3 separate regions of the Homo sapiens genome follow, and regions 2 and 3 are each linked to region 1. The links are contacts of gene promoters, found by promoter capture Hi-C in blood cells and fetal thymus (Javierre and others, 2016). All regions are on one chromosome and are shown on one strand. The core of a region is centred on a gene start or on the middle of the fragment in contact, and the rest is flanking DNA. Distances in the headings are between cores, read along the strand shown. Region 1 holds the start of ZNF445 (zinc finger protein 445). Region 2 overlaps TGM4 (transglutaminase 4). Region 3 overlaps ZDHHC3 (zDHHC palmitoyltransferase 3).

Region 1 (4,610 bases), core at 478-2,977:
GAGCCGAGTTTGCACCACTGCACTCCAGCCTGGGCAACAAGAGTGAAACTCCGTCTCAAAAATAAAATAAATAAAATAAACAAGGAAAAAGAAAATAAATTTAAGAATAGGAAGGAAAAAAAGAAATTCATAAATTCAATCTTACAGAACACCTAACAATTCGCCTGAGAGTCACAGAAATGTACTCTTTCACATTGTTTCTAATACAAAATCTTGAAAATTGCAAAATACAGTGTTATGTTTTACTATAGTTTACTCTCTGACATCGTAGACTGCTTATGCACTAATTCTTCCTGGATACCGGAAGCCAGAGAAAACCTAGCGGTGGAATACTTGCCATTTTTCATGCTTTTTGTCAGTTTCCTTTTTAAGTGCATACTGAGGTTTATCTTCAAAACATTCTCATCTTTTCGGCTTACAGTAAGACTTTTTTTTTTTTCTAACCAAAATGTGTCTGCCTTTCATTAAGATAACATAAAAGAGCAGCCTAATTCTTTGGTCCCTGAATATGCACACACATGCATGCACACACACACACGCAGACACACACACAACACATGGAGGCTCTCTGAAACTGCTTAATCAAATTACTGCTCAAACCACTCCCTGGCACTTCCTTGCAAAACAACCAACCTAATACTGAGTTTTTAGTTTTGCACTACAAGCCGTTTGAAACAGAATAACATTCTTTCCTGGCCACCACTTTTAAATTCGGAAGGAGACAATACTCTGATCTCTTAGGCCTGTGCAAGTCAGAGTGTGCTACAATCGCTGCAGGTTAGAGCTCTGCCTTTGTTTAAAAACTGCATTTTATATACTAGTTACTTCATTGTGAAAGATAACCACCCTGACAAACAAGATTTTGCTATTTTTCTGCACAAATGTCACTTCACCATTTAGAGCTTCATGCAAATGTGTCTCCTACAGAAAATAAACTGCAAACACGATTTCTTAATTATCCTCGCCAAAAAAAAAATGTTTTAGTGGTGTCATAATGCCAGCACTAATTTTAGCCAAAATAAGAACAAATGCATTCTACAAATTCAGGAGATTATAATTTTTAAAAAGCAGTAGTATGGATATACTTAATGTCACTGAATTACACACTTCCAAATGGTTAAATGGTAAACGTTTATGTATTGTATGGTAAATGTTATGTGTTATTTTGGCACAATATTGTTTCCTCACAATAATACTAACAGGTTTTTTAAAAAGCAAGAGCACGCTCTCATTTCGTAATATATATTTATGGATGTCAGTGTGCAGAATTATGCACAGATATTTTAAATGTCAGGAGGCCTGGAGACAGATTTCAGGATTGCGGCTACTTTTACTTTTCTTCTACTTTCCCGTGTTATCTAATTGTCTCTGATAAATACGCTTTATATGCAGAATTGGATGAAACGAGAAAGCCCGGAGAAACCCGGGCTCCAGATTCTCTACCCCGGACGCCTGGGAGGCAAAGAGGTTCTAGATACGCCCTCAGCGTGGCGGGGGCGGGATCCACCGCCAGACCCCCGCCACGGGCGCAGCCTCCAGGCCGGGCCCCGTCCGCCGCCCGGGCAGGCCCGAGAATGCCGCGGACTTCGGGGAGCCCCGCGCCCGCAATGCCGCCACCCCCACCCCCGCGCCCCGCCAGGCCTCTCACCGACTCCCGCCGCCGAGCGACAATCGGTCCACCCGCCGCCACCGCAGCCGCCCGTCCCGCGCCTACCTCCCGGCGGCTCCAGTCGCGCACGCGCGTCGGCGCCCGGGGCCCTCCGCGGCCTCTCTAGGAAACTGGGAGGCCCAACGTCTCTGCTTCTCTCCGGCTCCGGTGCGGCGGGCGGCGGGGCTTGTCCAACATCCCTCACCTCCCTCAGTTGGACATTTCCCTTCCACGCTCGGATGCCCAGCCGCGCCTGTTTTCTTGCATCCCTCCTGTCGTGTCTGCGGGGCTGCCCTGAAGGCCTCTTTCCCTCCAGGGAAGAAAGGGATCCAAAGCTAGGGGTGAAAATAGGGCCAGCAGTATCTAGCAGACTGGTCCTGGCCAGGAGAAGGGGTTAAGGGAGCCACTCATTCTTCGCCTGGGTACACTTCAAAGAGGGGAACCAGATCCTACGGGAAGCTAGGTGCCAGAACTCCTGCCTTTCCAAGACGAGCTCATCCCCATCATCACCATACCCAGGAATACTTGTTCATAGCCAGCTCAGAGGTGCACCATACTTTAGCTTCCCACGGCCTTCACTCGTTTTCTCCTGTGGGTGAATTCTAACTAGGCTCGCCTGGTGAGTGAACAATGATGCCATTGCCCAATAATATGTGGAATCTGGGAGGAGTAGGTTGGGGGTAGGGGGTGGAGGGGCTGCTTGAAGAGGAGGTGAAGCAACCTGGAGAGGTTGCCCACCCCCTGTAGGAGCAAATGTCATCTATTGCCAGTGCCAGAGAACCTTGAGGGTGCACAGCCAAAGCCATAAGGCCATCTGCTGCCATTGGAGGGCATGCTACAAGCTGCTGTCCTGGTAGTCCTCTGGTTTGTGCTTCCTAGTGGCAGGCTGCAACATGTTGACGATTGATCTTTCAGATGGGCATTGATGATGCCCATCTGTGCCCTGAGGCTTTGCTTTACTCATCTGATCCACCCCTTTTTAATGCCCCAGTCACCAAAGATGGAAACAGAGAATAGATCCTGAACACCAGGAAGATGGTGACAAGGTGATAGAGAAACAGATGGCACATTCAAACAAGGTAAGTGGGGAGAGTTCACAAGGGGCGATTTACACAAAGTGGACAGGGTTAAGGAAATGCAACACGGAGTGGTGCAGAATCCCATGGCTAGCAAAATTTAGAAGCTATTCTCACCCCTAGGAGCAGGCCATCTGAGAGAAACTGTGGCTTTCAGTTGAGGGCTACATCCAAGCCATAGTCCAGCACAAAGGAAGCTGAGGTAATAAATAACCTGAACCCAGCTCTCTTCTGATCTCCTGCCAGGGCTTCCCATTGGCCCAACTCAACTGGAAGCCAGAGGGCAATCCAGGAAACTCAGTCTCCCAAGTGTCACAGCAGGGTTGAGGACTGAGACTGAATATGGAGGGGCAATTGGAAAATATCCAACACATACAAAAAGGAAAATAGAAACTGCTTGTCAATGCCTAATTTGTCCATTAATTTCCACTCGATATAATGTTCTTGAGTGACTCAGAACCACCCATAGTGGTGAGAAGAGTTTTCAAGTTTTGTTTGAGAACAAAATTTTCCCATCGTAGAAGAGTTTGAGCAGGTTCTCTGTGTTTGGGATGTACTTACTGGATGTTTTTCAACGTGATAGGTGGTTAGCATGGATAGCACCCACATTTAGTGTGATCAAACAGATCAACCAAATTGGCTTCACCAGCACTTGCAAAGTTCGGGAAGCAGCCACTGGGAGTGCAGCTCTGATTTTAAGACCTATACAGCTTCTTGAATCTCGAAGTTCTGCTAATACCTGATTTCTCCGAGTGCCACAGCACTCGAGCCTATAACCATGAGGTTTCTTCACTTTTCTGGTAGGAGGCATATTCTTGCTAGCTGTACTTCCTGAGCACTGTACTCTTTCAGATCGGGGCAGTTTGCTTAGTAAAAGCCCTAGGTAAGATTCTCAAATTCTCATGTGCATATGAATACAAATCACTTGGGATCTGGTTAAACTGTAGATTCAAATTCAGGAGGTCTGGGGAGGGACCAACGAATATTTTTAACAAACTTCCAGGTGTACCCATATTGCAGTTCTTGGACCACACTTGGAGAAGCAAAGAACTGTGCATGTAAATCAGTGGTTCTTAACTTTGCTGCAGATTAGAATCCTCCTCAGAGCTTTTAAAAAGTCCATACCTCATATCAATTCAATCCAAATCTTTGTGGGTGAGACACTGACAAGCCTAGATTTTAAAATCCCTAGATGATTCCAACATTTGAGAACCTGGAAGTAGATAATTATCCTTTTACCCTGATTCCTTGCTACATGTAAAAACCACATGCTAAAGGATTGCATGTTCATTTGCTTCTTTGTTTTGGAATTTAAAGTGTATCAGGATTCTGCCTTTCAAACAGAAGGGGGAAATTTCCTCCTTAATTTTTTTCTTCTTATTTTGAAATGGGGAAGAAAAAATTGGGGTGTTGAGATGGGGATCTGGAATGTGACTTGAGAAAAGAGATAAGATGTTAAAACTAAGAATCAGTTGTGGGCAAACAAATTGGCCTGGTAGGATTTTCACTCCTTTTCTGGCCTCAAACTCAGCCCCTTCTCTGTAGTTTGAAGGAGGCAGGTTGAAATATTAGGATGAAAATAAAATAGAGCAATGTATCTGAGGATGGTGATTACTGTGATCCATTGGATTAGTGTACTCTTCTATAAGAAAAACATAAAACAAATGTTTAAGCAGTTAAATTATGTGTAATTGTGGCCATTTGAAATATATTACATATTATATCATATAATTAATCTTCTCTGAATTCCCCCTTCTGCCTCTAATTCTAAGATATTGAAAAATACATTTTAATGAGATTTTAGAAGGTGATCCAACTTTAAATGAATTTTAAAATTATCATTTATATCAAAGAAATACTGATGCATTTAGTACTAATGAAGGACT
Region 2 (4,624 bases), core at 199-2,698, 430 kb after region 1:
TGGCTCATGCATATCTTCTCTCCCCATCTCTCCTCCCCACCCTACTACAGTTGCCTAACACAGGCAGAATTGGCCAGCTACTTGTCTGCAATTGTATCTTCAAGAATACCCTGGCCATCCCTTTGACTGACGTCAAGTTCTCTTTGGAAAGCCTGGGCATCTCCTCACTACAGACCTCTGACCATGGGTGAGTCTGCCTGAGGTATTCTTAGAAATATGCTTCTGGACATATATCTTGCACATGTGTGCATATTCCTGAGAAGTGAATTCCCAGTATGGGGTCACAGGGTCAAAATGTAGATACATTTTGCTAGTGCCAAATTACTTTGAGAAAAGATTGCATCAATTTATGCTCTACCGACAGATCTTTTTGATTCTTGCCAATCTAGTGGTTAAGTAATCTCATTGCTTTACTTTGCATCTGATTATTTGTGAGGTTGAATATTTCTTACATTAATTGACTCTCTCCTGTGAATTGCCTGTTCCTAACTTTTGTCCATTTTTCTACTGAGTCATTTATTTTTTCATATTGGTATGGTGTCTTTACACAGTAGAGTGTTATGTGCTGTGAATTTTTTTATAGCAGTTTTGTATTCAATTTTTTAAATTTGATTCTTATTTATTTTGAGGTGGAGTCTCACTTTGTTGCCCAGGCTGGAGTGCAGTGACACGATCTTGGCTCACTGCAATCTCCATCCGTCCCCAGGTTCAAGTGATTCTCCTGCCTTGGCCTCCTGAGTAGCTGGGATTACAGGCATATGCCACCACACCCGGCTAATTTTTGTATTTTTAGTAGAAACGGGGTTTCCCCATATTGGCCAGCCTGGTCTTGAACTCCTGACCTCAGGTGATCTGCCCGCCTTGGCCTCCCAAAGTGCTGGGATTACAGGCATGGGCCATCATGCCCGGCCGAACAGTTTGTATTTTTTTAAACACTAAGATGTCTTTCACCAGTAGAACTTTTAAATTTTAATGTAGTCAAATTTTTCAATCTTTTCCTTTACGGATACTGAATTTCATGTCATCCTAGGTGCATAGAAATATTCTCTTATGCTTTTTCTAGAATTTCCAGCTTTATTTACACAATTAGGTATTTATCTGGAATTTTTTTTGGGTGTGGAGTGATGTGGAGCTCCAACTTTGTCTGTGGTTTTCCTAGTACTTTGTAGCACTGCCTTTATTATGCTGTCAATTCCCATATATATCTGGGTCTCTGGACTCTTTAATTTGCTATTTCATTTGTCTTCTTCTAATATAACATCATACCACTTAAATTATTGTAGTCCTATAATAATTTTATATGATTATCATATCTACATATTGATATGTATTAGGCAAATCCCCACCCCACCCCCATTTTTGTCTATAGCACTTTTAGAATCATCTTGTCATATAATTTTAAAACAGCTGGGATTTAGATTGATACTGCATTGAATTTACCTATTTATTTGGGGGAGAATTATGCCAAATGACAATATTGTGTCTTGCCATCTAGGAATATGAGATTTTCCCATTTTTTTCCAGTCTTTTTTATCACCTTTAGAAAAGCTATATTGTTTTCTTTATATACCACTTGCACGTTATTAGTTGGGTTAATTCCAAGATGCATCAATATTATAGCTTTTATGAATGGAATATTTTTCATTGTATTTTCTAATTGTTTGCTGGACTATATGGAAATTGATTTTTGGCATGCTGATATATCCAGCAAAAAACTTTACTGAACTCTAATGTTTTGTTTCTGAGAGGTTTCTGATGGTCTGTTTCTTACAGGATGTCTGAATCTTCCAAGTAAAAATGAGTAGACTCCTATTTTCCTTAGACCACGATTTATCACATTTTAATGTGCACACAAATTACCTGGGGAGTATTGTTACAGTGTAGATTCTGATTCAGCAGGTTTAGGGTGGAGCCTCAGATTCTGTGTTTCCTACAAGCTCAGCTAGTATTGCGAAGCCCCAGAACACACTTTGAGTAGTGAGGGGCTAGCCAATTCCTTGCATGTGGATTCAACATAAAATACATGTTCCTCTTAGATTTTATGTAATAGATGACTGTTGCTAATACTCATGAAACAAGAACATCTGTAGTAAAGTCAGGCAAGACTCCAGGGAAGATTTGTGAAATGTCAGAGTTGGAAGAGCTTCTGGAAACCAGCTGGTTCACCCGTCTTGCTTTACATCTGAGAAAACTGATAGCAGCACCCAGGGTGCAGGTACACTGTGCCATGCCCTGGAATGGCCAGGACTTTTCAAAGAGGCTGAGCTAAGGCTCAGTTTCCTGGCTTCTCACCCAACTCATCTTCTCCCTCTTCCCATAACATCCTTGGCTGATTGTATGTCCGTATGTCTTTGAATTTTCCAGGACGGTGCAGCCTGGTGAGACCATCCAATCCCAAATAAAATGCACCCCAATAAAAACTGGACCCAAGAAATTTATCGTCAAGTTAAGTTCCAAACAAGTGAAAGAGATTAATGCTCAGAAGATTGTTCTCATCACCAAGTAGCCTTGTCTGATGCTGTGGAGCCTTAGTTGAGATTTCAGCATTTCCTACCTTGTGCTTAGCTTTCAGATTATGGATGATTAAATTTGATGACTTATATGAGGGCAGATTCAAGAGCCAGCAGGTCAAAAAGGCCAACACAACCATAAGCAGCCAGACCCACAAGGCCAGGTCCTGTGCTATCACAGGGTCACCTCTTTTACAGTTAGAAACACCAGCCGAGGCCACAGAATCCCATCCCTTTCCTGAGTCATGGCCTCAAAAATCAGGGCCACCATTGTCTCAATTCAAATCCATAGATTTCGAAGCCACAGAGTCTCTCCCTGGAGCAGCAGACTATGGGCAGCCCAGTGCTGCCACCTGCTGACGACCCTTGAGAAGCTGCCATATCTTCAGGCCATGGGTTCACCAGCCCTGAAGGCACCTGTCAACTGGAGTGCTCTCTCAGCACTGGGATGGGCCTGATAGAAGTGCATTCTCCTCCTATTGCCTCCATTCTCCTCTCTCTATCCCTGAAATCCAGGAAGTCCCTCTCCTGGTGCTCCAAGCAGTTTGAAGCCCAATCTGCAAGGACATTTCTCAAGGGCCATGTGGTTTTGCAGACAACCCTGTCCTCAGGCCTGAACTCACCATAGAGACCCATGTCAGCAAACGGTGACCAGCAAATCCTCTTCCCTTATTCTAAAGCTGCCCCTTGGGAGACTCCAGGGAGAAGGCATTGCTTCCTCCCTGGTGTGAACTCTTTCTTTGGTATTCCATCCACTATCCTGGCAACTCAAGGCTGCTTCTGTTAACTGAAGCCTGCTCCTTCTTGTTCTGCCCTCCAGAGATTTGCTCAAATGATCAATAAGCTTTAAATTAAACTCTACTTCAAGAAAACTCTGTGGTCCCTGAGTCCTTTTTTCTTTATGCCAATAAGCTTCTTAAATGTGCTGGCGGTTTATGCAGTCACTTGGGGAGCCATGGAATCCTTTGATCTCCCCAGGCAAGGTGCTCTGAGGAGTTGGCTTCTTTATTGTCTGTTCAGTACATCCAACCCCTCTCTCAAAGGCTGTCACCCCAACTGGATACACACCCTGGCAAAGGCACGTAGCTTGAATGAGGGTTATTTTGTGTCTAATTCACAGGAGAGTCATGGGTGGGATACCTGTCATCCTCTGCCTTTCCAGCTGTCCAAGTGAAAAAAACCTCAATCCTGGTCACCCTTGCCCAAGTTGCCCACATCCCTGGCATACAGTAGGTGTTCAATAAATGTTTATTGAAGGAAAGGTGACTGTTCCTTCTGCTGGAAATACCACAAGGGTGGTGACACAAACAAGAGTTTGGTCAGTCACTCCACAGCACAGTGTCCGATCCCAAGAGGTGATATAGCCCGGCACGGCCACTGTGTGGTGCCGTATGACACTCACTTGTCTCCCACACTGGGAATGGAAGAAAAGTAGCTTTCCTAGAGGTGCCTTTAGGGTGGCCCATAAGGAAGGACACTGCCCAAGGGTTTGAGCTGGGATCTCTTAATTAAAACAGGAGACTCCAGTCACTGAGGGTGAGCAAAGAGCTTTTTATTCAAAGAAAGAGGCAAATTGCACCCAATCTCTCTCCCTGTAAGATCTCATCTGGTTTTGACATCAGTTGCAATGCTTTCAGTCTGAGGCTAAGCAGAATGTTATGCTGTGAATGGTCACCACAGAGAGACCACTGTGTTGCTGGTGTGGGGAGGCGAGGCTCAGGGTTGGACAGGTTAATTACCTACATAACCCTGGCTGTGGCCCAGCCCAGCACCTCCCAGAACAGGGACTGACATGGCTGAGGTCTACCTTGGAGATGGGGTCAGTGAAGAGGGGAGGCAGGGTCAGCCTCTGTGCAAGTAAAATGCCCCCTCACCCCAGCCTTCCTTTCCAGAGCAACCAATCTGAAAACAGAATTGCCTTTGGGGCTGGTGTTGTACCTCTGCTTTCAGGCCAAGATGGATTCCCTAGAAGAGGAGTTTGAAGCCCAATGTGCAAGGACATTTCTCAAGGGCCATGTGGTTTTGCAGACACTGCTGTCCTCAGGCCTGAACTCACCATGGAAACCCATGTCAGCAAACAGTGACCAGCAAATCCTCTTCCCTTATTCTAACTG
Region 3 (4,167 bases), core at 1,493-3,992, 490 kb after region 1:
AGGACACTTTGGGAGACCCACGCAGACAGATGGCTTGAGCCCAGGAGTTCGAGACTAGCCTGGGCAATATAGCGAGACCTCATCTCTACAAAAATCTTAAACAATTAGCCGAGCATGGTAGTGTGTGCTTATAGTCCCAGCTACTTGGGAAGCTGAGATAGGAGGATCGCCTGAGCCCAGAAGGTTGAGGCTGCAGTGAGATAAGATTGCACCACTGCACTCCAGCTTGGGTGACAGAGTGTGACCCTGTCAAACAAACTAACTAATGAATAAATAAAAATTGAGCATTCCTTCTTCTATGAGCCCCTTCTGGCACCTGTCTCATTAATGGAGCATGACACTCATTGGGTTACCTCAATCAGACTTGGGCCCTCAAAAACATAGCTGCTTGTAAAGAGACTGTGAGAACTACCCGCCCTGCTTCCAAATTGTGGTCCACTCTGTTTTACAGATGAGTAAGGAAGTGAAGCTCAAGGAGTCAGTGGATCTTCACAGGGAGGTGGCTAACTTGTTTTCTAGGTCTAATGGATGGTAACTACTACAATCTGTTTAATTGCTACGCTGCCATCTCCCTGCATTAACTTCTCCTTGCAGGAAGTTTGTAAGCCAGCAGGAGCATCTTCATAAAGGCAACAATAAATGACTGCTCCAGCTACCCAATGAACACTTGCCGATGACGGTGATACTCTCATAGTTTGTGAACCCCTTGTAATCCAGTGCATGATCTCATTTGACAATGAACTGCCTTCTGGCCTCTGTGAGGGTAGGCTCCAGTTCTGCTTGATTGTTGCCAAAGTGTGGGATATGCTGAATGTAGGGTGGGGCCCTGATTCTTTCCTGACCCTCACTTAAGGTGTCACCACTGCCTCCATCAGGGCACTGGGCTGCTTGCTACACATGCCTCTTCCTGTTTGATTCTCACATCTACTCTATTTTGCACATATAAATGCCCACTTCCCCATCCTGCTTTTAGAAACGAGAAAACTGAAGCATGCCTACAACCATACTTCCAGGAAGTGGTGGAGACAGGATATACTCCCAAAGTCTGCTCTTGCCCCAGGGCTTGCTTTTCACTACTTACTACAATAATTAAATTTTGTCTAGTAACTAGAAAATAAAAGGGGGAGGAGTATTGATGTTTCCATCAGTGACCTTGGGTTACTTACGGTTTGGCTATCTTGTCCACACATGGTTATGCAGAGGTGGCATTATCGAGTGGGCTGCATGCAGTGGTGCTCACAGGCCACAGGCCTGAACATAAGCATTTTGGGCTCTAAGGTGGGGCCCTGGCTGAATACCAGCCAACATTTAGAATACCGATCCTGCCCTAACCTAGGAGGCAGGAAGGCCGTGAAGCCTCAGCCAGAAGAGTCACCTAGGATTGAATCCCTAAAATCTGCTTTGGCTGGGAAATACTTCCTGTGGTGCCAAGTAACAGAATGCTGCTTTTTGTGAGAAAAAACGCCTCCCCCCATGCTAGGCAGAGACCTATCAGCAAAGGTTCCCACCTGAGGATGTTGAGAATGACACCTGGGCCCACATTGTGTCATGTGCAGCCACACAGCCACTGTGACATCACTTAGGCTAGGCCAGAGCTTGGTTGTTTTTAGGGACTAAAAGCAAAAGTGCTTAGAGAAATCCGAAAGACTAGCTAGGGAAGGGAGAGAACCAGTTATTGCAACTGTACTAGGTACTAGGGCCTAAAAAGGGGAGCCATTTGACTTTCAGGAATCTGCTGGTATCACTTATTCCAGGCACTGTAAGTGGCAGTGCAAGAGCAGAGCCCTGGGAGGAACCTGGGACCACAGAAAGAAGGCTGTAATGGGCTGTGAGAAAGAGAACACAGCCCCTGCTTACCTGGTGAGGGGCTCTCCAGCCATTCACCAGAGGGCTTTGGAAATAGATGGGAGGCTAGTGCTAAAGGGAATGAAGACTGAGCTTGGAATCAAGAGGCCAGAGTTTACTCCCAATCCTGCCACTCGCTAACCTCATGATCTCAGGCAAGACAGTTACCATTCTGGGCCTCAGTTTCCTCATTTGATAAAACAAAGGGGAAGATCACGCTGATTGCTAGGGCCCCTTGCAGGGCTGAGATTCTATGAGTCCTCTGTTCTCAGGAGCAAATTCAACGTTTTCTTTGTTAATATCTTGGATTTTACATTTTTTTACCAAAAGCTTCACTTACCTCTTTTCCCGATTTGCTAATATTCAAAAAGAAGCCCACTAGTAACTATCTCTCTTAGCAATTTCCTGAGCATGTTTAGTTTTTTCAATCAAGTACAGCATAAAATTACGACTTCCTTTTGTTCATTTAATTTTTTTCAGAGTGGAAAAAGCACTAGCAAAATATATCAAGTATAATGAAGTGGTAAATGAAAGAAGTCTTAAAAACCCCAATTTAAACATGGTCATTTTTCAATATTCAAATATTTGCATATCCAGGATCCATTCTGAGTTTAAAAACCTGGCAAGATACTCACTTGAGGGCAAAATGAGACTTAGGTTAACTGACTTGTTCAAAGTCATAAAGCAAGTTAATAGCAAAGCCCAAATCTTTGGACTAAGATGCCCGGAAGTCTTTCTACCATAGATTGTTATCTTCCTAAACAACCTGTCTTTCTAGATTCTCTGCTACTATTTCTTGGTTTAGAAACATACACTTCACATACTGAAGACTTTACTGCAACAGGACTGTGGCCAGAACTGTACTTGTCTCATTAGGCTTACCTTGCTAAGGTAAGAAAGTGATCTCACTCAAAGGCATTGCATCTCCACTGACCTTGAATAGGAAATACATATTCATATCTTGCCAAGAGTTCAAGTGCCAAGTCAATACATACTACGAAGTCTATGGTTTGGAGGAGACTATGAAATGATGACATTTCCCATGCATTCCAAATGTATTAGGATGTATGACTGAATTAAGTGGGACATGCACCTGGAGCCTTCTCACCTTCACAGTTGACAGCCATGAATGAACTGGCCATTTGTCTCTGGAAATCTGCTTCCGAGGAGGAAAGCAAATGATTTTTTAAAATGCAAAACAGGAAGGAACTAAAGGCAGCATGGCATGAGCCTCATTTTTTCCCCAACAGGTCAACACTGAGACATCACCCCTCCACTTCTACTTGAGACTTTGTTACTTTCCATGGCTATCAGGGTGTGTGTGTTTAAATATTTCTACATTTGGTAAGCAGGATCTGTTACCCCCTTTTCTCAAATATGCCCTAATGAGACATAGGAAACATGCTGTCACTCTCCCAAAATGAAACACACATGAAGACTGTATAACTTTTCCTCTAATTAAGAGTAAGCTTTACCCATGTATTACTAGCAATTTTTCTATCACTGTAATCTCAAGTTACAATGTCTAGAAGACAGATGAAGACCTGCTGGCCAGACTATGACAGTATTCTTTACAGATATTCTTCATTTCTATCATTATTTTATTACTTATTTTATTATTTTTTAGCGATGGGGTCTATGTTGCCCAGGCTGGACTCAAACTCCGGGGCTTAAGGGATCCTCCCACCTCATTCTTTTAAGACAAGGTACAGGCGGGACAAATGCAAAGTGTTTAAAGGAAACAGATCTACAGGCAAAACGGTAACTGACTTTGTACATTTCAAGGGTGCTGGGCTAATGGTGAAAATGCAAAGGAAAAGGCCTAAAACATGGCCATGTCTGCTTAGGACTGGGAACAGAAGGTTTCCTGCTGGGCTTTTAAGAGCTCTCTATGGCTGGGCATGGTGGCTCATGCCCATAATCACAGCACTTTGGGAGGCCAAGGCAGGCAGATCTCTTGAGGCCAGGAGTTCGAGACCAGCCTGACCAACATGGCCAAACCCAGTCTCTACCAAAAATACAAAAATTAGCCGGGAGTGGTGGCACACACTTGTAATCCCAGCTACTCGGGAGGCTGAGGCACAAGAATTGCTTGAACCCAGGAGGCGGAGGTTGCGGTGAGCAGAGATTGTGCCACCGCACTCCAGCCTAGACAACAGAGCAAGACTCTGTCTCCAAAAAAGCTCTCTGCAACATCAGCACCACAGACTCAGCATTGCCCTGAAGCTCTTTTGTAACTGGCTTTTATTGGTTTAATTAACCAAGGATGGGTGGGACAGAGTTACTCCATCTCTGTCATGTTATTGTTGCCGGCTTGTGGCT

The links. The method cuts DNA at HindIII sites, captures the fragments that hold promoters and counts their contacts. A CHiCAGO score of 5 or more calls a contact.
Region 2: a contact is called between a fragment that was not itself captured here and the fragment with the promoter of ZNF445 in region 1, in 4 of 17 cell types (total B cells, naive B cells, naive CD8 T cells and 1 more). The highest score is 6.3, in total B cells.
Region 3: a fragment that was not itself captured here is called in contact with the fragment with the promoter of ZNF445 in region 1 in 4 of 17 cell types (naive CD4 T cells, total CD8 T cells, activated CD4 T cells and 1 more); the score reaches 7.4 in naive CD4 T cells.

The regions. Positions count from the first base shown.
Region 1 is chr3:44,475,943-44,480,552 of GRCh38, forward strand. ZNF445 (zinc finger protein 445) reads right to left here and starts at 1,728. Exons shown (of 8, transcript NM_181489.6): 1 at 1,649-1,728. It overlaps LOC101928529 (a long non-coding RNA gene), which reads left to right and starts at 1,748. Exons shown (of 4, transcript XR_940785.4): 1 at 1,748-2,267; 2 at 2,640-2,727. RefSeq lists silencers at 1,476-1,525, 1,546-1,705. The HindIII fragment of the contact is 9,006 bases long and covers 1-4,610 here.
Region 2 is chr3:44,911,220-44,915,843 of GRCh38, forward strand. TGM4 (transglutaminase 4) reads left to right here. Exons shown (of 14, transcript NM_003241.4): 13 at 51-187; 14 at 2,365-3,771. The coding sequence ends at 2,506. ZDHHC3 (zDHHC palmitoyltransferase 3) reads right to left here. Exons shown (of 7, transcript NM_001135179.2): 7 at 4,042-4,624. Among named protein-coding and RNA genes, the nearest start is that of TGM4, 39 kb to the left of the region's middle. The HindIII fragment of the contact is 3,807 bases long and covers 1-3,352 here.
Region 3 is chr3:44,968,443-44,972,609 of GRCh38, forward strand. The region is part of intron 1 of ZDHHC3 (zDHHC palmitoyltransferase 3); the gene reads right to left. Among named protein-coding and RNA genes, the nearest start is that of ZDHHC3, 5.6 kb to the right of the region's middle. The HindIII fragment of the contact is 1,139 bases long and covers 2,174-3,312 here.